Linked DNA regions of Homo sapiens: regions 1, 3, 4, 5, 6 and 7 are each linked to region 2. The links are contacts of gene promoters, found by promoter capture Hi-C in human tissues and cell types (Jung and others, 2019). All regions are on one chromosome and are shown on one strand. Each heading gives the region's core, a stretch centred on a gene start or on the middle of the fragment in contact. The rest is flanking DNA. Distances are from core to core; before and after follow the strand shown.

Region 1 (3,007 bases), core at 314-2,813, 790 kb after region 2:
TCTTCCTCAATGTTGAACCACCTAACTGGGAAACACTCCTGTGGCATCACTTCCTTCTTCTCTGGGCTGTAGCTGAATTTCCTGACTTGGGAGTTGAAGTTGCCATTCATGACTTGGAGATAAACACTTCAAAACGTCATGGGAAGTACCAGTTTTCTCCAAGAATAGAGCATTTATCACCAACACTTGCCAAATGTTCTCAGGGAACAGAGAGATAGAAATACAGGTGTGGCCATGGATATTCCAGGCCCTTTATTCTATACTCTCATTATCTAAAGGCAGCAACGCCTTTAAAATGACAGAACATACTGGCCGCCAGAATAGAAGGAAACCACTACTCATAATTGCTTGAACAGACTCTAGCATAAAGGACCAGCATTAAGATGAAAATTAGGTGGAGAAACTCCAGGCAGCCATCGTTTTGAAGCAGATCATGGTGGCAGAGATTTGGCAGAAGGAGACTTTCGTGTGACATCATTTTGCTTGTGTGGTTTTACTAATAAGACTTTGATGGGTTCAAGGTTCTAGAAAATACCTAACTCTTGGACTTTACATGGGCCTGAACCCCATCATCAAAGAGCCTGATTTTTACCCATTCTGGTTTCTCTCTCTACCTGTGTGGCAAATACACTTGGTTCACCATATGCCATATTCATAGATAATCACAAGACTCTAAAGAAATGACACAGCAAATTATGTAATTGCCCAGAAGTTTCCTTGCCTGGTTTTTGGTTGTTTTGTTTTGTTTTTTAGTTCCTGAACACATAGATAAGAGCTAATTTGTATACGTGTACTATACAACATTAATACAATTTACCATGTAGGTTAATCCAGAACCTGCCACATAGTAGCAGCTCAGTGCATATTTGTTAAATGAAATAAATACTCGTAGGATTCAGCAGGAAGAGAAATCCAGAACAGTTAAGAATGGAGAAAATTGCTCACTAATACATGGTGGGTAAATACAGGACTTCCCTGGAACCAGACTTCCTGAGTGAGAATCCCAGCTTTACCAACTGAATCTCTCTGTCCTTGGGCAAACCCCATAATTTCTCTGTGCAAATGATAATTTTCAAAATGGAATTTTTAGAAAACATAAAATCCTTTATTTTTTAACTCTTTGTGTGAGTTAAAAATGAATGTTATGACCCTCAAAGGGCATCTGAGGAGTAAGGATATTTACAGAAAATTTAACAGAGAAATATTAGGATAAGATTGCCAGGTTAGATATAATCTGGGTAATGTCCAACATGCCATAAATCACTGAGGTTCTCGGTTTCCCTGATGATAAATTATTTGTAAATCTGCTGGACCAAAGTCTTCAAATTAACAAGTGACTTCCTTAAGCCTTGGAACTTTAATCAAAGTTGAGTGATGAGGTAAATCAAGGACATTATTCAAGAAAATCCTTGAGTGGCCTTTTCTCTCCTATGATATTGAAAGAACATGTCTCTCACCTTTTAGCCTTCGTTTCAAGTTTTGGATAATTTTTCTGGCATCACCTTCCTTATTATGAGGATAAAATGGGTTAACATAACAAAAAGTCCTTAAAACAGTGCCTGGCGTTTACTTAGTAAATGCTGTACTGACTATGAGTTTTCCTGGTGAGGTCAGGCCTGCTTAATAATGCCCAGGAGGGGATTTAAAACACAAAGCTCAGAAATGTTACTGTTAGCATTACTTCTCCAATCAACAGGGACCTCCCACTGTTAAATCAGAAGAGAAATGAATAACATTGTCTGCATTCTCTGTTGTAATTACTAACATTTAAAGTAGCATTTGGGGTTTCATATCCCATGACTCTCAAAGGGAAATGGAACACCAGCATGTGTTGGGGGCAGGGAGATAGCAAAGATGGAGCAAATCAAAGGGCGGCACCCCTCACTGGCCATATCAAATCCCTGCAGAAGTCACCTGAACCACCTCCCACTTGCCATCCTTGCATCTTTGCTGACACCTCTTGCCCCAGGTGTGGAAACAGCTTCCTCACTGAGCTCCCTGCCCCCTGCTGTTCCTACTTTCCATTCATTCTCCACTGGTCACCAGACCTACTGCCTAAAACATGGATCCAATCATGTCATTCCCCTGCCCTCCCCCCCACCTTTAACAATGACCTACTACCTACATAGCAGCACCCAAGACTCCCTGCCATCTATCCCCACAGACCAGTTCCACCCCCATCTCCCCGATGGACTCTGTGGCCTCACTCTCCACTCATGTTGGACCACCCAGCTCAGCGCCTTCCCTCTGCTCATACCCATTGTCCACGTCTCCTCTTCACAAACCCATATTCACTCCTCTCTGACTCACTCTGATGGATCCTCTGCTGTGAAACCTCCCCTAAGCCCAAGCCAGTAGCCTACATTTCCCTCCTTTCCACTCTCACAGCTCTGTTCGTGGCACAGCAGGCGTTTCCCCAGCACCATAGGATTCTCCCACAGTTAGATAATCTGATAGCATCTCTATCTCTCAACTGTGACTCCTGAGGGCAGGGGCTGAGTTCCACCGGACCTCGCATTTCTCAGTCTCTAGCTGTGTGCAGGCTCTGTCCCCAGCCTTGTAAGTATTCTCTTAACCAACTCTCTTGCCTTATTCCAACACTTATCCTGGTTGGAGCCTGGCTAGACACCCAGCAAACCAATCTCCTCACCTCTCAGGGCTCATGGCTGGACCACATTCCTCAGCCTCCTCTTAGAGAGGGGGTGGAAATGTGGGCACCAGTTCTGGGCTGGCCTGTGACATCTCCCAACACATTCCCCCAGACCCTCCTGTGCGTGTGTGTGAAAACACTGACGAATAATACCAAGGCTGTGAAAGAAAAGGTTGAAGTCAAAAGAACAATTCCTGGCACTTAGCAGAAAGAACCTCATTGTCGAGGACACTCTAAATACTGAGCCTCCATCAATGGCTGCCTACATCTCCAACTCCAGGGCTTCAGAAAGAACACAGAGCAACCACTCTGTCCTCTGTGTCCTAGAGTGACAAGCAGAGTGAGACTCTATCACTC
Region 2 (3,022 bases), core at 302-2,801:
CCTTTAGCCTCAGCTCTGCCTCTTGCTTTTGTACCTTGGAAAAGTCACTTCACCTGTTTTCTCATCTATATAGGATGAAGATCATAATTTCTTTTACACAGTGTTATGAGACTGAATGACAGAAATTAAAAGAAGTGTTCTACGAAGGCAAAGTTAGGTTTCTTATAGCAGGAAGGGAGATGCACACAGAGAAGTGGGAATCTCAGGAGACGGATGTGGCCAGGGGCTTTTTACGGGGGTTGGGCTAAGCATTATTAGTCAACGGGCTGTACTGCTATTTATGGTAGGTTTTGAATACCGTTTCTCCAAAATAACCTATTTCCTCCCCAAACCCAAACTTCCTCAACTGGGATCGAACTCAATCCTACAGCGTGTTCTGAGATTCTATACTCGCCTCACTTCTCCCAAGATCGTAAATTCTGGAGGAGCCATTCCTTCATCATCCATGTTTGCATCCTTCACACCGTTCACTGGTTAAGTGCTTAGTACGTTTGCTATTGGGCAAGGTCCTCAAACGGGAGGTGGACGTCAGAATAGTCAGGTTATCGACTGAGTAACTGTTAGTGGTGGATAATTTAAAGCCAATTTGAAAGTTCATCCTTTCCCCCAAAGGCAAAAACAGGCGTTCCTTTTCTTAAAAGAGAATTTTAAATAGAATTGGGTCTCTGGTGTCCTGCCTAAAGCCCGCAAAGAAAGAGGGTACGGTTGGGGGTGGGGGTGATGGGGGATACTGAACCCTTTTCTGGTTGCGCCTTGCCCGGAGCCCCCGGCTAGAGCCCTGGCGCTCCTGGCGCGCTCCCAACGCGAATCGGTGACTCCGCAGGCCGCGCAGTGCGGAGGTGCCCGTCCCACCCTCCCCCTTGTGGGGTGCGGGGCTCCATTTCCCCAAGCCGCTGGGGTCGGCTTCTGGTCTTGAGATGCGGATGAAGTGGTGTGAAGGGTTGGGCTTTTTTTTTTGTTCCTAAAAATGCAACGAACAAAAAAAAAAGTACAACAATCCAAACCCAACCATCTTAATTGCACGGCAGCTTAACTGGGAGACTTTCTTCCCGGGCGGCCCCACCCGGGACCGCGCCGCTTCAGTCGAGCCCACCGTCTGGGCAAACGGCGTCCACTTCCCGGAGCCGCTGCCCAGCCTCTGCGGGGGGGCTTTGGGCGGGCGCAGGACTCTGGAAGGGAGAAAAGCCCGCAGCCCGGCCCTCCCCGTCCCAGGCGGCCCGCGCGGGTGGACGGCGGGAGCAGGCGGCGGTTGGAGACGCCGGAAGGAACGCGGTCTCACCACCCGGCTCCCTCCGCCAAGGCGAGGCGCGGCCGGGGAGGCGGGACACAGGCGAAGCGGGACGGGGAGGCGGGGCCGGAGGTGCAGGCGGAGGCGGGCGACGGGGAAGGGAGGGGGAGGGGGAGGGGAAAGGGAGGGGGAGGGGGAGGGGAAAGGGAGGGGGAGGGGGGAAGGGACGGGAGGGGAGGGGGAAGGGACGGGAGGGGAGGGGGAAGGGACGGGAGGGGAAGGGGAAGCGGGAGAGGGAAGGGGGCGGAGCTAGCCGGAGCCGCGAGTCCATTTTGGGGCTGTGCTTGGCGCGTACCGTGCGGTCCCTGTAGTTGGAGGACGGGCGGTCGCGCGGCCTTTCCCACTAGCCGGAGGTCGGAGATAAGTACCCGCCGCCCGGCTCCTCTCGGGAAAGCGGGGTGGTCCTCGAACCTTCAGCGAGGGTGGGGAGTTGCCCAGGTCAGCAGGGATCTGCGTGGGTTGGGGGGGCTGGCGAAGGCCGTCTGAGCTCCAGTCCGGCAGCGCGGCAGAAACCAGCGGGGCACTGTCATGGGCCTGGGGAGGAGCGGCCTGCGGAGGGCGCCGGGGCAGTGTGTCTGTGGTCCAGAAAACCTGCTCCGTCCGGAGCCTTCCTGGCCCCGCTACCAGCGTCTCCACATCCCCTAGAAAAGAAAAGACGGGTGTGGGCCTTAGGTTACAGCGCGCCGCCAGCGTTTGGTTGCATGGCGCCGGGGGAGGGCGCCCTAACCGAGAAGCTGCTTAATACAAAGAGCTCCAGGCTCCTGGCGGTTCACCAGGTCTAAACAGCCGGGCTTTATTTGTGGGGGCGATTGAAAAAATTGAGGGTCAAGATTGGGGTGCTGTGCAAATAAATGCGTTAATACTGTTCTTTTTCTTCTTTCTTTGCAGTAGCCTCTAGTTCGTTAGTCAAAACGTGAAAAAAAAGACCTGCTTTGCCCTGGGAAATAGTAACCCTGCCAAATACATCAGCTTGTAGGAGACAGAGGTAAACTACAATAATTTTCCTGTGTTATCTTTTTTTTTTAAACACCCAATTTCAATAGGCCCTAGAACCTTCCAAAATGGAACTGTGTGTAGAATACGTATGTTCCCATCCACTTTCATTGGTGGTCTTTGTTCTTTGCATATTTTGTTAAAACTTAGAAAAACAGAATTCACGTTTAGCAATTATTTATGTGGTATTTATCTTAAATATAGCCAAACATTCATATTACAAAGGAAGAAAGGGGCTTCCACACTTTTTTCCTACTTTTTTTTCCCTTCTCCTATGCTTAGTGAATTGTCAGGCTGCTAGGGCTTGTAGAACAGGGCTTGAGTTTTCTAGAGACCTTTATATAATAGGCACTTTAAAAGCAGAATTTCATTTACATAGGCACTCCTTCTAGTAGAACTTGATGGAGCTGTTAACCGGCTATACTTCCTTCTTGCACAATGGGAGCGTCCCTATCCCTCCCTAAAAATACGTTTTTTTTCCTTTCTCCCAGCTGGCTTACTAAACCTCCCTGGGAAGTCCTTTCCTAAAACCGGGCTGTTCTGTTCATTCTATACATTTATGATAGGTTATCTGGCCTTAATTCTGTCACAGCTTTTGTTCAGATATGCTCATTTTCATGACACTGCTTTGTACCTGATACCTTATGTAATATTTGTTTTGCCTTGCCTTGAAATCACAGTTCAAGTTTAGAACCTTTTCTTGCTTGATACACTGATGCTCCAAAATAACACCTTAAATGT
Region 3 (3,082 bases), core at 429-2,928, 890 kb after region 2:
TTTGGGCAAGGCTTATGGCCAAAGGGAATTCTTGGTGAGAGATTCAACTGGAAGCTATTCTAAGCTTACATCTCCAAATGAGGGAGCAAGTGCCTTGTCCTGAAGATCTGGTGGGCCATGCCACAGTGTCTACCACCCAGAATGATCTGATTAGTATTAATATAATATTTGTGTCATTTTACAAACACACAAAAAGCAATACGCTAGTTATGTATATATAAATACATTAAAAATTGCAAACACTTGTATGGGAATTATACATCAATTTCACCATCATGGGTACTAATGAGGGAAAATGGAGGTAGAGACGGAGGTAGGGATGAGGTATCTGAGGCTTCAGCCATTCCTTTAATATTTATTCCAAGAAAGATGGGAGGAGAAGAGAGAGTTAAAACAAACATGACAAAATGTAAAAATCAGTTCAATATTATGATACGGTGAAGATAGGAATATGTGATTATTTTTGTACTTTTCTATGTCTGAATACTTCATTATTTAACCCTAAAAGAAAATATTAGAGAATATGTCTCAGAGAAATAAGAACTTGAGAGTCATTCTGTTAGGCCTTAAGTGGTCATTGGGAGAGCAGAGATTGACATTCTGTGAATAGGGCTCAGGGTCTTAACTGTAAAATAAATTAGATTATTTTAAGACTACCTCCAATTTGGAAGAAAGACTTTCAATTTTATGAATGTTTTGATAAAATCACAGCTGTTGGTCAATGAAAGCTTTAATTCTGTGAAGAGTGAAATAGTCCTCCAATTGGATCAGCTCTTTAGTTTTTACAATCAAGTGTCAACTTTGTTCTTAGCTGTACCTAAGGCATATAGACCACTTTCAGCAAGCATTCACTAGATTGACCAGCTATTATAAACTAGGCACTGTTCTAGGCACTCGAGATAAGACAGAAAACAAAACAGATTTTTAAAAAGTTCTACTTTCCCTGTTAAAAGAATGAAAAGACAAGTCACAGAGTGGAAGACAATATTTACAAAACACATCTGATAAAGGACTTATATCAAAAATATGAAGAGAACTCTTAAAACAGCATTAAGAAAGCAAACGATGCAACTTAAAAATGGGCAAAAGATCAAAACAGAAACTTCACTAAAGGTGGTGAGGATGTGGAGCAGCAGGAACTCTTATTCATTGCTGGTAGAAGTGCAAAATGGTACAGCCACTTTGGAAAACAGTCTAGCAGTTTCTTACAAGCTAAGCGTAGTCTTACCATACAATCCAGCAATTACACGCTTTGGTGTCTATCCAAATGAGTTGAAAATGTGTGTCCACAAAAAACCCTGCACACAAATGTTTATAGCAGCTTTATTCATCATTACCAAAACTTAGAGGCAACCAAGATGGCTTCAGTAGGTGAATGAATAACTAAATTGTGATATATCCAGACAATACAATATGATATGGTAATGAAAAGAAATTAGCTGTCAAGCCACAAAAAGATGTGGAGGAAATTTAAAGGCATATTGCTAAGTGAAAGAAGCCTGTCTGAAAAGACAACGTGCTGTATGATTCCAACTGTAAGACATTCTAGAAAAGGCAAAACTATAGAGACAGTGAAAAGATCAGAAGTTGCCAGTGGTTCAGGGATGGAGGGAAGAGGGATGAATAGGTGGAGCACAGGGGATTTTTTAGGATCACCTATGTGATCCTGTAATATGGATACATGACATTATACATTTGCCAAAACCCATAAGACTGTACGAAACAAAGAGTAAACTTACGTTAATAATAATGCATAAAGATCAGTTCATCAGTTGTAGCAAATGTACCACACTAATGCAAGATATTAATAACAAGGGAAATTTAGGGGGGTTAGGGTGAGATGGGAAAGGGCATTAAGGAAACTCTATGTACTTTCTACTCAATTTTTCTCTAAAATTAAAACTGATCTAAAAAATAAAGTCTACTAATTAAAAAAAAAGAATCCTTGTCTTTGTGGAGCATACACAATGGTTGGGGGAAATAAGTAATGTGTTTATAGAAGATGGAAATACTAATACATTCCATGGAGGAAGGAAAAAAGCAGAGAAAGCCAATAGAGAGTGAGGAGTTGCCATTTTAATTGGATGACATGGAAGGCTTCCATGAGAAAGGACATTTAAGAATCAATAAAAAACTCAAAATGCTTCCACTGGATGGGCACGCCAGACCTCATTTTCAATGAAGCATCTGTCAGAGGCTCAGGAAAACACTAGTGAAAGGGTAGATTAGATGACAACACTTAACCCTTGATCAGTGTTAACAGTACTAAAAATGGGACCACGAGACCTCATGTGCCGCCTGATGGAATGCAATCGGAAACACGCGATAGTACCTATGGAGTATTTGCCAAAATAAATGCATCTGAATCTAAGCAAGCTTCACACTCAGGCAGCAAGCTCATGAAAAATACAAAGGAACAAGTTATTAGATTAATGGGTTGAATGAGAATGCGATCAGCAAAATCTGGCATGCCGGAAGTTCTACAGGACAAATGAACCAATGTCTTCAACAAACAAAAAAACGGCTAAAAATGGGGAAGTGGGAACTTTCATAGATTAGAAAATACCTAAGAGACATTTCAACCAAATGCAATTTGTGGACTTTACTCTGTGATTTCAACAGGACTGTAAAATATATTTGAGAAAATTGGGGACATTTGAACACGGACTGCGTAATAGGTGAAATAATAGAATTAATGTTAATTTTGTCAGGTATGATAATGGAATGGTGGGTTTGTGGTTTTTAAAAATGCTCATCTGTTCGATTTATATACTACTGACTTAATTATGGATAAAACAATATGACATCAAAAAAGGTGAATAATAGATAAAGCAAGATGGACAACTGGGGCTGGACCTGTGCTTGGTGGGTCCTTGGTGTACCTGGTGGGTCCTGAGCACCACCCCGGTGGTTCTAGGTGTGCCCTGTCAAATTCCTGAAAACTCCTCTTATAAATGTGCAAATATTTATAATCAGTTTTTTTTTTTTAATAAAAAGAGTCTAACATTCTATGGCGACATTATGTGTAAAAAAATTCCTTTGGATCAGTTATGTGAAATATTTTTTAAAAACCAAGAAAAAT
Region 4 (2,874 bases), core at 233-2,732, 930 kb after region 2:
AAATAGAAGCAACAAGAGAAGAAACACATTCCTGACTTTCTCCAGTGTTCTTTTCTTCAAAATGAAATTGACTGTAATTGGTCAGCTATATTTAGAAATCTTAGTTATATATCAGACTAAGTTGACGTGAGAAATATTTCTTCAAGAGAAGTTTTAGGTAGCAGTAAAGGTTCTAAAGCATTTAAGAAAAGTACAGGTACAGAAGAAAGCCAGCCCTCTTTTAAAATTTCTGTTTTATCTAAATGCTCATAGACAACAGAGGAACAAATGTTTTTATTTGCTACATTGGCAGTGGGAAAGTAAAGGCTAACATTTGCTGAGTTCTTACTATGTGCCAAGTATTGGTTTAGGAAATTTACATGTGTTCTTTTTTTTAATTCTTATAAAAACCCTTGAGGAGGTTCAGTATTGTCTCCATTTTACAGATGTGGAAACAGCCACAGGAAGGTTTATGTAACTTCTCCAAGGGCACGTGCCCAGCATATGGTGGAGATAGAGTTAAAGTCAGCATCCTTGTCTCCAGAGATTGTGCTGTGGTTAAAAAAAAAATTTTTTTTTCATTAGTTGAAGTGATAAAACATGCAGATGTGCACAGTCTTCACCCTCTTGTGCCTCCTCCCTTTTTTTTTTTTTTTTTTTTTTTTGGTTAAGAAAGGAAAGGAAAAAAAATTCATTCAGTTGAATAAAGCTTTACTCACTCCCTATGGCTTCAAGCATGTCTGTCTTTCTCACTTAGGGTTGGCCTGTGGCTTGGTCCCTGTCAGACCCTGTGTGGGGAGAGCCACACACTGCCCAGAGGCAGGGACCCACGTGCCAGCTCATGTCATATGGCTGAACTGTTGTGTTTTGATAGTTTAGGAATGGATATTCCCTCTTGATCTGATGGAGGATTTAAGGACAGGCTTTGTATTAGTTAAGATAAATGACTTGCACTTTCTAATTTTTTGGTTTAAGTCCAGTGAGGATTATGGAGCTGGAAAACTACCATCTATGTATAATAGCTGTAAGCTTTCCTTGGAATCAGTTTTTTAGAATAGACCTGTGTATGTTTATGTTCATATTAGGAACATTCGTCAGAGATACTGGATAGTCTTTTGGGGTGTGTGTGTGTTTGTGTGTGTGTGTGAAAACTTACAAATAAAAGACAGATTTGTCTTAACAGGAGAAGGAGCCATTTACTTGTTCAATATGTGTCTACAGCAGCTGTTTGAAGTAAAAGTTTTCAAGGAAAAACACCATTCTTGGTTTATAAATCAATCAGTTCAATCAGGTAGGTGACTAGTGTAAGCATTTCCAATAACTAAACACATACTCCAGCTTTTCCATTCTTCACACGTGGGGTTGTGGGTCTGTCACCGGGTTTGGAGTCTGGTCACTGGTTTAGCCTTCCTTGGCATGAGAGCAGGTTTAATCAAGGAGAAAGGAAAGATCATTTGAGCACTAAGGTTAAGTCATCTCCTGTGTGTCTTAGACGGTAGGAAGTTTTAAACTAGCAACTCTGATTTGTCTCCTAAAACAGTGACACATCCTGAGTTAGAAGTTAGATTTGTACATGGGGCACATATTGTGTTGATTAGAAACTCTTTTGAGGATCTTTGTGTTTTTAACATGTTATTTCCTTGAAACTGGATACTGATATGGCTTCTAACATAGGCTAGAGCATAACAAAGTTTCTTTAAAATGCTTTGTCATATACCTGCCTGCCCACCTGCTCCCCCACCCCCATACACACATACACCCCCCAGCACCAAAGTTCTGTTTCTTGTGGTGTTCCCTTAATTTGGGGGCAGTGCTGACTAAAGGAAGAGTAGGCCAACGGAACTGTTCTGCCTCATGTTCTGGGGTGGGGGCAGTCAGTGGCTATTCAAAGAATCCTACATCCCCCTGCCCACAGACCACGGAAGGGACTGTGTATAGAGAGAATGGCACTGCTTTCCCATGGCTTTGTCCTCAAAAGCACAGGAAATTACATTTTACTGCAGCTTTATAGATAGACTGACGATACAGGTTCCCTAACATTGCCGTCTTCTCATTCTGTCTGTGCTTCCTCCTAACCCCTCGTTTTTCAGGGGGTTGGGAGGCTGTGTTAAAAATGATTTCTAAAGAAGAAATGGAAAGTTAAAGATCAATTTCAGGGTCTTGGTTCTCCTCTCCACACAGGGATTTGAAGCTCTTTGGAGTAAAATCTCATAGAGCACATTCTGCCTTTTGAGAGAATCACATAGACTCTGAGGCCTGTATAAGAAGAGATTTGAATTTGGAATTTCACATATATTTTTCAACACTGTTTTTCACTTTGAGATTAAGGTGAAATAGCCACATTGTCTTTCCAAGACGTTTAATTCCCTTCATCCTTTTTGTAATCTGCAGGAGGTCTTCTCCATTTTGCCACACCTGTGGATCCTCTATTTCTGCTTCTCCACTACCTCATAAAGGCTGATAAGGAGGTGAGTTTCCAGCTCGGAGCATCCACAGTGAGGAAACAGAATCAACTATTTTTGTTTGATCTCCTCTCTCTCCTTTTAATGATCCAAAGGTGGATTCTACCTTCAGATCTATTATAGTGACTAGAGAAAACATGAATCATATGGGCCAGTGCAGGACAGAGCACTACTGCACAGGCCAGAGAAGCAGCACCTTACTCTTGATCCAGTCTGACCCTGGCTTGCTTGTGACCTCTGACTTGCCTGACTCACTGTGCTGTGCACCTTACTGCTTGACAAAGCCTGACAGCTAACACTCCTTTATCATTAAGTATTCCTTACACTTGAAATACAAAACAGGTATTTAAAAATTGACCACATGTCTTAAAGAGTCTCTTCTTTAGTGAGAGACTGTGGAATAGGTAAACTGGAGCGGGTCCAATAGAAGCTC
Region 5 (3,120 bases), core at 32-2,531, 970 kb after region 2:
TGACCATTTAGCCTTAAATAATCTGTTTTAATTGCAAATTTTATTTTAAGAAAGGAAAAAAATCACATTTATTCTGCTGCATCTTCTTGCTTTATTCATAATGAATTCTGCAGGTCAATTTATCCTCAACGATGGCAAGCCAGAATTTAAGTAAAGCTTCTACTTAGCTGGTACATTTGCATGTCAAATCTTTAATTCAGCTGTCAGTGTTTTAGCATTTACTGTACTTTCATTAATAAATGTTATTTTGATGGTCTCAGGCTAATCAAGACTATTTGAAATGGGGGACGGCACCAAATGAAATTTACAGAGAAATCAGAGCTTCTTCATGGACTTTAAAATAATTGTTACTTTACACGTGTTTGAAATCAGAATACTTGTAAAATTAAAGTTAGACATGTTGTTCTTGCATAAACAAGCAAAAGAAGCTAAGGAATCAACTTAGATTTATTTGTTCCTTTAAGAGCATGTACTGAGCACCTGCTGTGTGCTAGACATGTTGTAGATAGAGGAAATGCGGATATCAACATGGCAGGCAAAAATAACCTGCCCTCAAGAATTTCCATTCTAGAGCGAGTAGACAGATGATATCTCAGATAGTGCCAGGGCCTATGGAAAAAGCTGACCAGGCAGGGCACTGAATTCTGGGGAGTGGGTGGTCAGGGAAGGCCTTGCTTCCTTCTCATCCACATTCTGGCATAGAAGTTTGATTTCCATGTACATGTTTTTTTTTGTAACATATAGCTCCAGAATACGTTATTTTTAACTTTGCACTCAATAAAAAATCAACTTGTAGTAATTAAACTTGTTCAGTACATTCTTCACAGGGACATTAGGTGCTACTACTTCTATCAGCAACAAGTATATGCTTATCTATTTTTTATACATTGGAGTCTACACAAGGCTTCCTGCTTTTTATAAAAGGAACTGCCTCTACAAAAAAAAAAAAAAAAGAAAAATGGTTTAAGAATTACTCATCTCAGAACGTTACTTTCGTGCATTTCTTGTATTTTATTTTTTTTCCTATAAGATGGTGCCCATCCTGTAAGTTTGGGCCACCCCAACATTATATTTCACTCCCTTTGAACATTCAAAGAAAAACATACTTCTTGGTGTGCTCTCGAGGAGCCTGCTATGAACCCTAGAATGAGATCTCGGAGGCTGGCCACGATGGGAACCCCTTCCTGTGTCTGAGGTCATCTCTTAGAAGCGAAAATGCTCAGCTGCCCTCAGGACTAAACCCGCCAGCCCTGCGTTCTGTTCTAGGAGCTGCAGATGGTGCTTGGGGTTTCAGGTGACTGTTTCTCCTCACCAGGACACACCACATGTTTTCCTTTCCTCTCTAGATGGCAGCACAAAGACAGAAAAGGGGCAAGTGATGGTGGTGGCTCCACGCAAGGCTTGGCGGTTTTCCCTGCAACTTCAGACACTCCCAGAGGACTCGGACTTTTTCTTCTGCACTTTTTTGGAAAATCGCCAGGTGCCAAAAGGTGCATTTTAAAGCGCTGACTGTAAATGCTTTATTTCTTTGATTAGTACCACTAGTCTATGTGGGCAGCGGCATTCCTCCCTGGAGCACTCAGCTAGGCGGTTCCGTCCAGGAGCTTGAAAGCATCCCAGCGGTGCACCTGTTCAGTCTGAGGACCTCAAGCTTGGGTCAGGCCAGCATGTTTTAGGTATGGATGTGGTGACTTAAAGTACTTGATTGTCTTGATTTCACCCTGAAAGCTTTGGCAAACCAAGTTTCAACCCTTACTTTAAAAATCTGACACTGCTTTACTCCATATCAATTTGGAAGCTTCTAATTCATAAATATACCTAAACGTTGGCATTTTATCTCTCCAGGAGTTATTAAACATTTCTTCCTTTTTAGAAGATTTGTCCAGTATGTGTATTATTTTATTTTTCAGAGTAAGGACATAGGAGATGACGGAAGGTTGGAAGTAGATGCCAAAAAGTGATTTGGTGGGGAATCTGGTGCGTAGTGCATATGTTTTAGCAGGTAGTGGGAGGTTTTGTGCAAAAATGTCTGTGGATTTGAGCTGGCTTGTCCACTTGACATGCAAGAGGAATGTGTGGGTGCTGCTCAGCTGATCTTCCCGCATTCACACAGGACCCCAATCTGCTTCTTCAGGAAATAATTTTGTTTCTGAATCTCTGACTACAAGGAGTATTAATAATTAGATCCTAGTTCTGGGAAGTAGTCTGCCACTTTTCCACACCTCCCTTCACATGTAGAAATTTTTGTTAACCTCAAAGGACTTTAAAAATTCCTGCCCTTCTGTAGTGGAAAAGTGAATCTTCCCTCTGCAAAAACCAAAGCCACTAGATATTGATAATGTCCAAGTTTGTCACTAGAAACCCTGCTGTCTTACCTGTGCCCCAAGTTTCTGTTCCAACACTTTAAATTCAAACACCTAACATTACAAGATTTCATTGGGTTGTTTTTTTTCTTTTCACAAGTAATTCATGATACATTCTCACAAAAAGAGAAGGCAGAAGTGATCCCCACCTCCCACTGCCAGCACTACTCAGGCTCCCCTGGGTGACTGCATCCTTGACCCTGAATCAAGCATGTTTCTTAGTTATCCAGTTTCCCACTTCCAGTTTCTATCTTTTGCCTTGCAGCCCGAGCAGCCCTACAGTCACTGTTCATGCAATCCATTTCATCGTTTCATCTAAGAATCCAATCCTATTGAGCTCTCCTTCAGAAATACCTCATGGGAAAATTAAAATTAAGACAAATCAAGAAATAGAAAACTCCAGCACTTGAATAAGCCCTTTTCTCTCTTTTTTTTTTTTTTTTTTGGAGACAGAGTCTTGCTCTGTTGCCCAGATTGGAGTACGGTGGTGCAATCTTGGCTCACTGCAGCCTCTGCCTCCAGGTTCAAGCGATTCTTCTGCCTCAGCCTCCCAAGTAGCTGGGATTACAGGCACGCACCACCACGCCTGGCTAATTTTTTTAAAAATTATTTTTAGTAGAGACGGGGTTTCACCATGTTAGCCAGGCTGGTCTCGAACTCCTGACCGCAAGTGATCTACCCACTTCAGTCTCCCAAAGTGCTGGGATTACAGGCGTGAGCCACCGTGCCCGGCTAGCCCTTTCTTCTTCATGCCCAC
Region 6 (3,065 bases), core at 464-2,963, 960 kb after region 2:
ATGCTTCAATCATCTTTTTTTCCAATATATTCAACAGTGCACTGGGAATAACATACAAACTAGTTATATGTAGAGGCTACCACAATCATTTTCTTTTTTTAAACACTTGTAACTGGTATCTTGTTTTGTTGTGAGCTATTAAAACACCTGAACAAGTCATTTCTCCAATTAAACATTTTATGTCCATACAAAAGTACCTTTCATCTTAAGTTCTTGTAATGAACACTTTTTATTTGAATTATCAATGAAAAGTGAACCTCATCAGTTCAGTGGCACACACTTGTAGTCTTAGCTACTCAGGAGGCTAAGGCAGAAGGTCGCTTGAGCCCAGGAGTTCAAGGCTGTAGTATATGATGATCGCAACTATGAATAGCCACCGCACTCCAGCCTGGGCAACACAGTGAAACCCTGTCTCTAAAGAAAAAAAGGGAATAATGTCTAAGTGTTTATAATGACATCTGTGTTAGGAACATTTTGCCATAGAGAAGGAACACAAGCATCCTCATAACTTCAAGCTTTTTGTGTTTTGAAAATATTTTGGCCTTCAGCATTATTAGCTGTGAGTTTCACCCTCCTAGCTGAAGATACCTTTCTAGTAAAAAATGTGCATCACCTAAACACCCTTTGCTGTCTTAATTTAAATAGAAACATGTATTTTTTTTTTTGAGACAGAGTCTTGCCGTGTCATCTAGGCTGGAGTGCAGTGGCACAATCTCAGCTTACTGCAGTCTCTGCTTCTCAGGTTCAAGCAATTCTTGTGCCTCAGTCTCCGGAGTAGCTGGGACTACAGGCACATGCCACCATGCGCAGCTAATTTTTATATTTTTATTAGAGATGGGGTTTTGCCATGTTGGCCAGGCTGATCTCCAACTCCTGGCCTCAAGTGACCGCCCACCTCGGCCTCCCAAAGTGCTGGGATTACAGGCATGAGTCACTGCACCAAGCTGAAACATATATTCTTAACAAAGTTGCAAATATACATTCACTTGGTGCTGATAGGTGGTTCATTTGTGATGGATTAGTCTTTTTCTTTTAATGATTCATTTGCTAGAGGTTGCTGTGTGGCCAAGAGGTTTTCCTATAGTGTGTGGTATATTCCCAGGATGAGCCTCTGTTTTTTTACAGCAAACAATTTTAAGACATGGTGTTTTATCCTCTTGGGTTATGGGATAAAACACCATGGGCTGTGGAATCTTTTAGCACCAACTCTACCCGTTCTTTGTTTAGCAAAGCAGGGGCATGAAGAATGAAGCTGGGAAGAAGTCTGTTTCCTAGGTTAGATCCATGTTGGGTCTGGTCAACCTGGTGTCTCCATAAACAGCCTGAAAATTATAAAAATCTGGGTTGTGATCACCATGCAGTCAATTCTCCATGTTCAACAGCAAGACTTGTCTTCCCTGCTTTTGTACCTTTTACATAATAAGTGTGGCATGATTTCTTCTATATTGTGATCATTAAGGCCTTGACAAGATTCTCACATTCACTGGTGTAAAATGTTCATGTGAAAGGAGAAAATATTAAGTAAAGGTCTGACTTAGTTGCATTGGGCCTAATGGAAAGAACACTGTATCAGAATTGAAATCTTGGCCAAAGTCCTCTACTTGGTGACCTTAAGCTATTCATTTAGCCTCTCTGTGCTTCCCTCTCTTACTGGCTGCTTGCTTGTGCAAGGTTGTTCTTGCATGGATAAAGTAAGATAAATATTGTCCCTTCATTCATAAGTGGACATTAAACTGGCCCAGGAGGTAAATGAAATAGGGATTCTGGCTGGACACCTGGCCCCCTTCAAGAGACTATTCTCATTTTGACTTCTGTGCCTTGCATTCATCTGGTAATTAGCAATCCCCTCATGCCCACCACACCTGGCACCTACAAAGCCTGTGTTTGCTGGACCAGCTAAGGGGCTCAGCCATGTACTTACCCAATCATATCCACCATCACCAAGGCTGCTTCTTAGGAGTGATGTGTGGCTCAATTCCCTAGATGATTGGCAAAATGTAAAGGAGCCTGTAAAAAGTAAGCCCTTTGCTGGGTCTGCTGTCCCATTCGCCTCTGTAGAGGTCTAAATTATACATGTTGGGTTTTTTTTTAATGGATTGATGTTGTGTCAAAGTGACATTTGACACCACTTCACTGCTCTAATGTTGCAGAAAATAAAGTTATCAGATGAGCCTGTAGAAGCAAAAGAAGATTACACTAAGTTTAATACTAAAGATTTGAAGACTGAAAAGGTATGTGGGTTCAGGTGTAGTGGTGTTTCGTTCATACTCAGTGCGTGATGTGCATGAATACATGAGGAACAGTTGCACGCTTGATTGTGATTACAGTTTTGACCAGGAAGAATTATTAACTTGCATTTCTGTGACTTAATAATTAAGAATTGCATATGACAATGAAAATGTTAAGCAACTAAGACTTATTATTAGTCAGAGAAAAACAATATACTACTTATCAAGAGTGTGCCTAAATTTTGCTATGTATTCATAGAGTGATAGGGTGGGAAAGGAGGGAGGAAGCTCTACAGGTAATTTTTTGTCAACCCTGCTGCCCAGAAGCAGAAATTATGATGATAAAAATTAATAATTTCACCATTCAGCATTCACCCTGGCAAATGGCATTTTGGTAACAGTCCTTACTTAGTTTTATACATGCATTATAAATACATATGTGGCCTTTAACATTGGCATTATAATACTCAGTTCTGGGCTTTTTATTTAACATTAAATTGTGAAAATGTTCACATATCATTAAACATTCTTTGAAAAAATATTCATGTTTTTATGATATTCAGTCATGGGTGTTTGTTTCACCATATGGAATGTAATTTAATCATTTCCCTATATTTGGACATATAGGTTACTTCTGATTTTTTTATTTTTTGTTTTTATTGAAGTGATAGACATTCTTATTTACAGTCTGTATCTCCAATCATTTCATTAGACACAATTTTGAACTAAGACTAAGAGCTTGGAGAACATGAATTCTTTCATAATTGAAATATATATAGCTAAAGTGCTTTTCAAAAATGGAGAAAGTTGTGCTTCCAAACATTATTGCCAATGAGT
Region 7 (2,996 bases), core at 419-2,918, 770 kb after region 2:
TACCAATGAGAACGCAGTGAGTCAAAAGAATAATGGAATTAAATAAGTTCAGAGGCTTTAAGTGTTTCTTAAAACACTTATCTATGAACCCCTAATCTTAGTCATTTCTGGCACAGTTGTTATTCATAAGCATTTGATCATCATTCATAGAAGACTGAACAAATTAACACAATGGATTGTCTTGGAGATGAAGGGGCAGTGTACTATTCCATTTAGCTTGTTCAGGGAACTTGAGTCAAATCCCTTGAGTGTTCACTCCATCAGATAGTCCATGAAATGCTGATGAAGATATAACAATTATCCATAAAGTTAGAGTGTTCACTAATTAAGAATACTGAAGAATGAAGTATATTAAATGGGTCATGTTGCACCTTTTTTGGGTTTGTTTTGTTTTGTTTTGTTTTGTTTGAGACAGAGTCTCACTCTGTTGCCCAGGCTGGAGTGCAGTGGGGCAATCTCGGCTCACTGCAACTTCTGCATCCTGTGTTCAAGCAATTCTTCTGCCACAGCCTCCAAAGTAGCTGGGATTACAGGCACGCACCATCATGCCTGGTAAATTTTTGTATCTTTAGTAGAAACAGGGTTTCACCTTGTTGGCCAGGCTGGTCTCTAACTCCTGACCTCAGGTGATCCACCTATCTCAGCCTCCCAAAGTGCTGAGATTACAGGCATGAGCCACTGCCATGTTGCACCTTAGAATGAATTTGTGTTTGTGATGTAGAGGAGAATTTATTCAAAATTAAGAATCACTAAAGACAGGGTATTATTAGGAAATGAAAAATGGCTTTTACTCCAATGACTCAAATAGCACTGCATCCTTCACATTAATAAGATGTTTCTACATGGAGGACTTTAGAAAGCGAAGCCTGAAGGGTGCAGACAGGGGAAGGAAAAAGGAAGATAAATGGAAGAAGACAAGGGAAGAGAAAATGAGGAGGAAGGAGAAAGAAGAGGAGGAAGGAGAAAGAAGAGGAGGGAAGGAAGTTTGGAAGAGGCTGGAAGAATTTGTTTTCTCCACATTCTGGTTCCCAACTTGGTCCTCTTCTGGCAATAATCAGGCCCTGGGGGAGAGAAGAGTAAAAGACAGAAAGGGCAAAGAAGAGAATAAAATAAACAGATAGAAAGGAAGAAGACCAGGAGAAATGTGAAGGAGGAAAGAAGAAATGTAGAAGACACCGAGAACACAGATATGTTAAAATGACACTAGAATGAAAGTTAAGCTTAGTTCAGCAAAAGTTTTGAACCCCTCACATGTGCCAGGCACTGTACTGGGAGCCAGCAATATGAAGATGAAGGAGACATGGCCATTGTTGTGGAGGCACTCAACAGGGAAGAACCAAGGTTGAGAAGACAGCAAGTGAAGGCCAAGAAAACTTGCATTGCGTGGATTATTTGGAGGCTCAAAAGGGGTCAAATGCTTTTTCTCTAAGCACTTTTAGTGATGAATTCCCATTTCATCTAATGTGGTTTCTACTTGACATTAGCTTTTGGACTTTTTCAGAAGATTTCTTAAATGTACTCTTTAGTAGGAGGGTTGGGGGTGGGGTGGAGAGAAAAGGATGCGTGTAGCTTTGCCTCAGCAAGTTTCATTCCCCTTCCAAACAGATGTTGTCTGGCTAGAGCAACACAGCATAAAACATGACTACTGGATTTGGCACAAAATGTACCAATTAACCTATGTTGATTAAGTCATGTAAAAGCAACAGGGCTCACTGAGCATTGGATGCTGTTTAAAGAAGGATACTGTCAGCCCAAATTGCTCACTCCCATCACGTTCGGCATCATGTTCAGCACAGCTGCAGCGGCTGCACTCCACCCGTCTCCTTGTCTCCTCACCCAGCCTGGAGCCCTGCAGGCTCGTGCTGGGCTCTTAGCAGACTGCAAACATGGAAGATGAACCCAAGATTCAGCTACTCCTAGTATGTCTGCTTTGAAATAATGAGAATAAGAGAATAAATGGTCTCTTTCCTTGTCTTCCTTCTCTTCCTACTCCTCCTCTTAATCTCCCCTTCCTCTTCTTTCTCCTTCCACACCACTTACCAAACTTCGGGAATCTCTCTCTTTCCCTCATCATCACTCCTTTCTCCTCCTCTTCTCTTACTTTTCCCTCTGTTCAGCACCTTCTCTTTATGCTGGTGACAGGCTCAGGAGTCCCTACATTCCCTAGGCCTAGGGAATTGGCTTTCCAACTGTTCATGAGAAATCCCTGCACAGCCAGTTTAAACTCAGGCAGGCAGGCCCCACTGCTTATGCCTATAATTAAAGAAGTTTGGAGCATGGCCTAAGACTCGACACACTTGACATCCCACCCCCCACGCCCCACCCCTGCCAGTGATTCTGATACAGGTGCTGTACATACAGAACCCTGGGAAATGCTGGCCAAACACACAGAGCAACACTGGTGTGCACAGCCAGAAGACAGCTGGAGTGGAGACTTGTCTCCCCTGGGTCTGTGTCCTGGTTTTTCTCCTGCCTGTCTGAACCCTCATCATTGGCTCCTTTTCCTTTGCCCACTACTTAGACGTTGCTAGTTTCCAGGGTTCTATTCACAGTCCATTTCTGTTATCCTACACACTATCCCTGATGGCTTTCATCCACTTCTGTAAATGAGAACAACATCTATACATTGAAGGCTGAAATGTTTATTTCTAGCCCAGAGCTTGTTTCAAAACTCCAGACGTGGCCGGGCGCGGTGGCTCACGCCTGTAATCCCAGCACTTTGGGAGGCCGAGGCGGGCAGATCATGAGGTCAGGAGATCGAGACCATCCTGGCTAACACAGTGAAACCCCGACTCTACTAAAAAATACAAAAAATTAGCCGGGCGTGGTGGCGGGCGCCTGTAGTCCCAGCTACGCGGGAGGCTGAGGCAGGAGAATGGCGTGAACCCGGGAGGCGGAGCTTGCAGTGAGCCGAGATCGCGCCACTGCACTCCAGCCTGGGCGACAGAGCGAGACTCCGTCTCAAAAAAAAAAAAAAAAAAAAAAACTCCAGACAT

The links. Contacts are between HindIII fragments. The study calls those that stand out against the background at their distance.
Region 1: a contact is called between a fragment that was not itself captured here and the fragment with the promoter of TRIM13 in region 2, in 3 of the 25 tissues and cell types used here (IMR-90 fibroblasts, lymphoblastoid cells and mesendoderm cells).
Region 3: a fragment that was not itself captured here is called in contact with the fragment with the promoter of TRIM13 in region 2 in 4 of the 25 tissues and cell types used here (dorsolateral prefrontal cortex, heart left ventricle, hippocampus and 1 more).
Region 4: a contact is called between a fragment that was not itself captured here and the fragment with the promoter of TRIM13 in region 2, in 1 of the 25 tissues and cell types used here (lymphoblastoid cells).
Region 5: a fragment that was not itself captured here is called in contact with the fragment with the promoter of TRIM13 in region 2 in 2 of the 25 tissues and cell types used here (dorsolateral prefrontal cortex and heart right ventricle).
Region 6: a contact is called between a fragment that was not itself captured here and the fragment with the promoter of TRIM13 in region 2, in 2 of the 25 tissues and cell types used here (dorsolateral prefrontal cortex and lymphoblastoid cells).
Region 7: a contact is called between a fragment that was not itself captured here and the fragment with the promoter of TRIM13 in region 2, in 3 of the 25 tissues and cell types used here (lymphoblastoid cells, mesenchymal stem cells and spleen).

Annotation. Positions count from the first base shown.
Region 1 is chr13:50,785,621-50,788,627 of GRCh38, forward strand. It overlaps a transcript of DLEU7 not described here. Among named protein-coding and RNA genes, the nearest start is that of DLEU7-AS1, 21 kb to the right of the region's middle. The HindIII fragment of the contact is 8,678 bases long and covers 1-3,007 here.
Region 2 is chr13:49,995,491-49,998,512 of GRCh38, forward strand. TRIM13 (tripartite motif containing 13) reads left to right here and starts at 1,552. Exons shown (of 2, transcript NM_213590.3): 1 at 1,552-2,273. DLEU2 (deleted in lymphocytic leukemia 2) reads right to left here. Exons shown (of 14, transcript NR_152566.1): 11 at 1,584-1,929. MIR3613 (microRNA 3613) reads right to left here and starts at 1,011; the gene lies at 925-1,011. RefSeq lists silencers at 519-568, 1,159-1,288 and an enhancer at 849-978. The HindIII fragment of the contact is 11,924 bases long and covers 1-3,022 here.
Region 3 is chr13:50,884,830-50,887,911 of GRCh38, forward strand. All of the region lies in intron 2 of RNASEH2B-AS1 (RNASEH2B antisense RNA 1), which reads right to left. Among named protein-coding and RNA genes, the nearest start is that of RNASEH2B, 23 kb to the right of the region's middle. The HindIII fragment of the contact is 5,967 bases long and covers 1-3,082 here.
Region 4 is chr13:50,928,313-50,931,186 of GRCh38, forward strand. It overlaps RNASEH2B (ribonuclease H2 subunit B), which reads left to right. Exons shown (of 11, transcript NM_024570.4): 3 at 1,163-1,270; 4 at 2,371-2,447. Among named protein-coding and RNA genes, the nearest start is that of RNASEH2B-AS1, 19 kb to the left of the region's middle. The HindIII fragment of the contact is 4,324 bases long and covers 1-2,874 here.
Region 5 is chr13:50,968,586-50,971,705 of GRCh38, forward strand. It overlaps a transcript of RNASEH2B not described here. Among named protein-coding and RNA genes, the nearest start is that of RNASEH2B-AS1, 59 kb to the left of the region's middle. The HindIII fragment of the contact is 4,557 bases long and covers 1-3,120 here.
Region 6 is chr13:50,951,755-50,954,819 of GRCh38, forward strand. It overlaps RNASEH2B (ribonuclease H2 subunit B), which reads left to right. Exons shown (of 11, transcript NM_024570.4): 10 at 2,151-2,231. Among named protein-coding and RNA genes, the nearest start is that of RNASEH2B-AS1, 43 kb to the left of the region's middle. The HindIII fragment of the contact is 3,908 bases long and covers 1-3,065 here.
Region 7 is chr13:50,764,493-50,767,488 of GRCh38, forward strand. It overlaps a transcript of DLEU7 not described here. Among named protein-coding and RNA genes, the nearest start is that of DLEU7-AS1, 42 kb to the right of the region's middle. The HindIII fragment of the contact is 4,034 bases long and covers 1-2,996 here.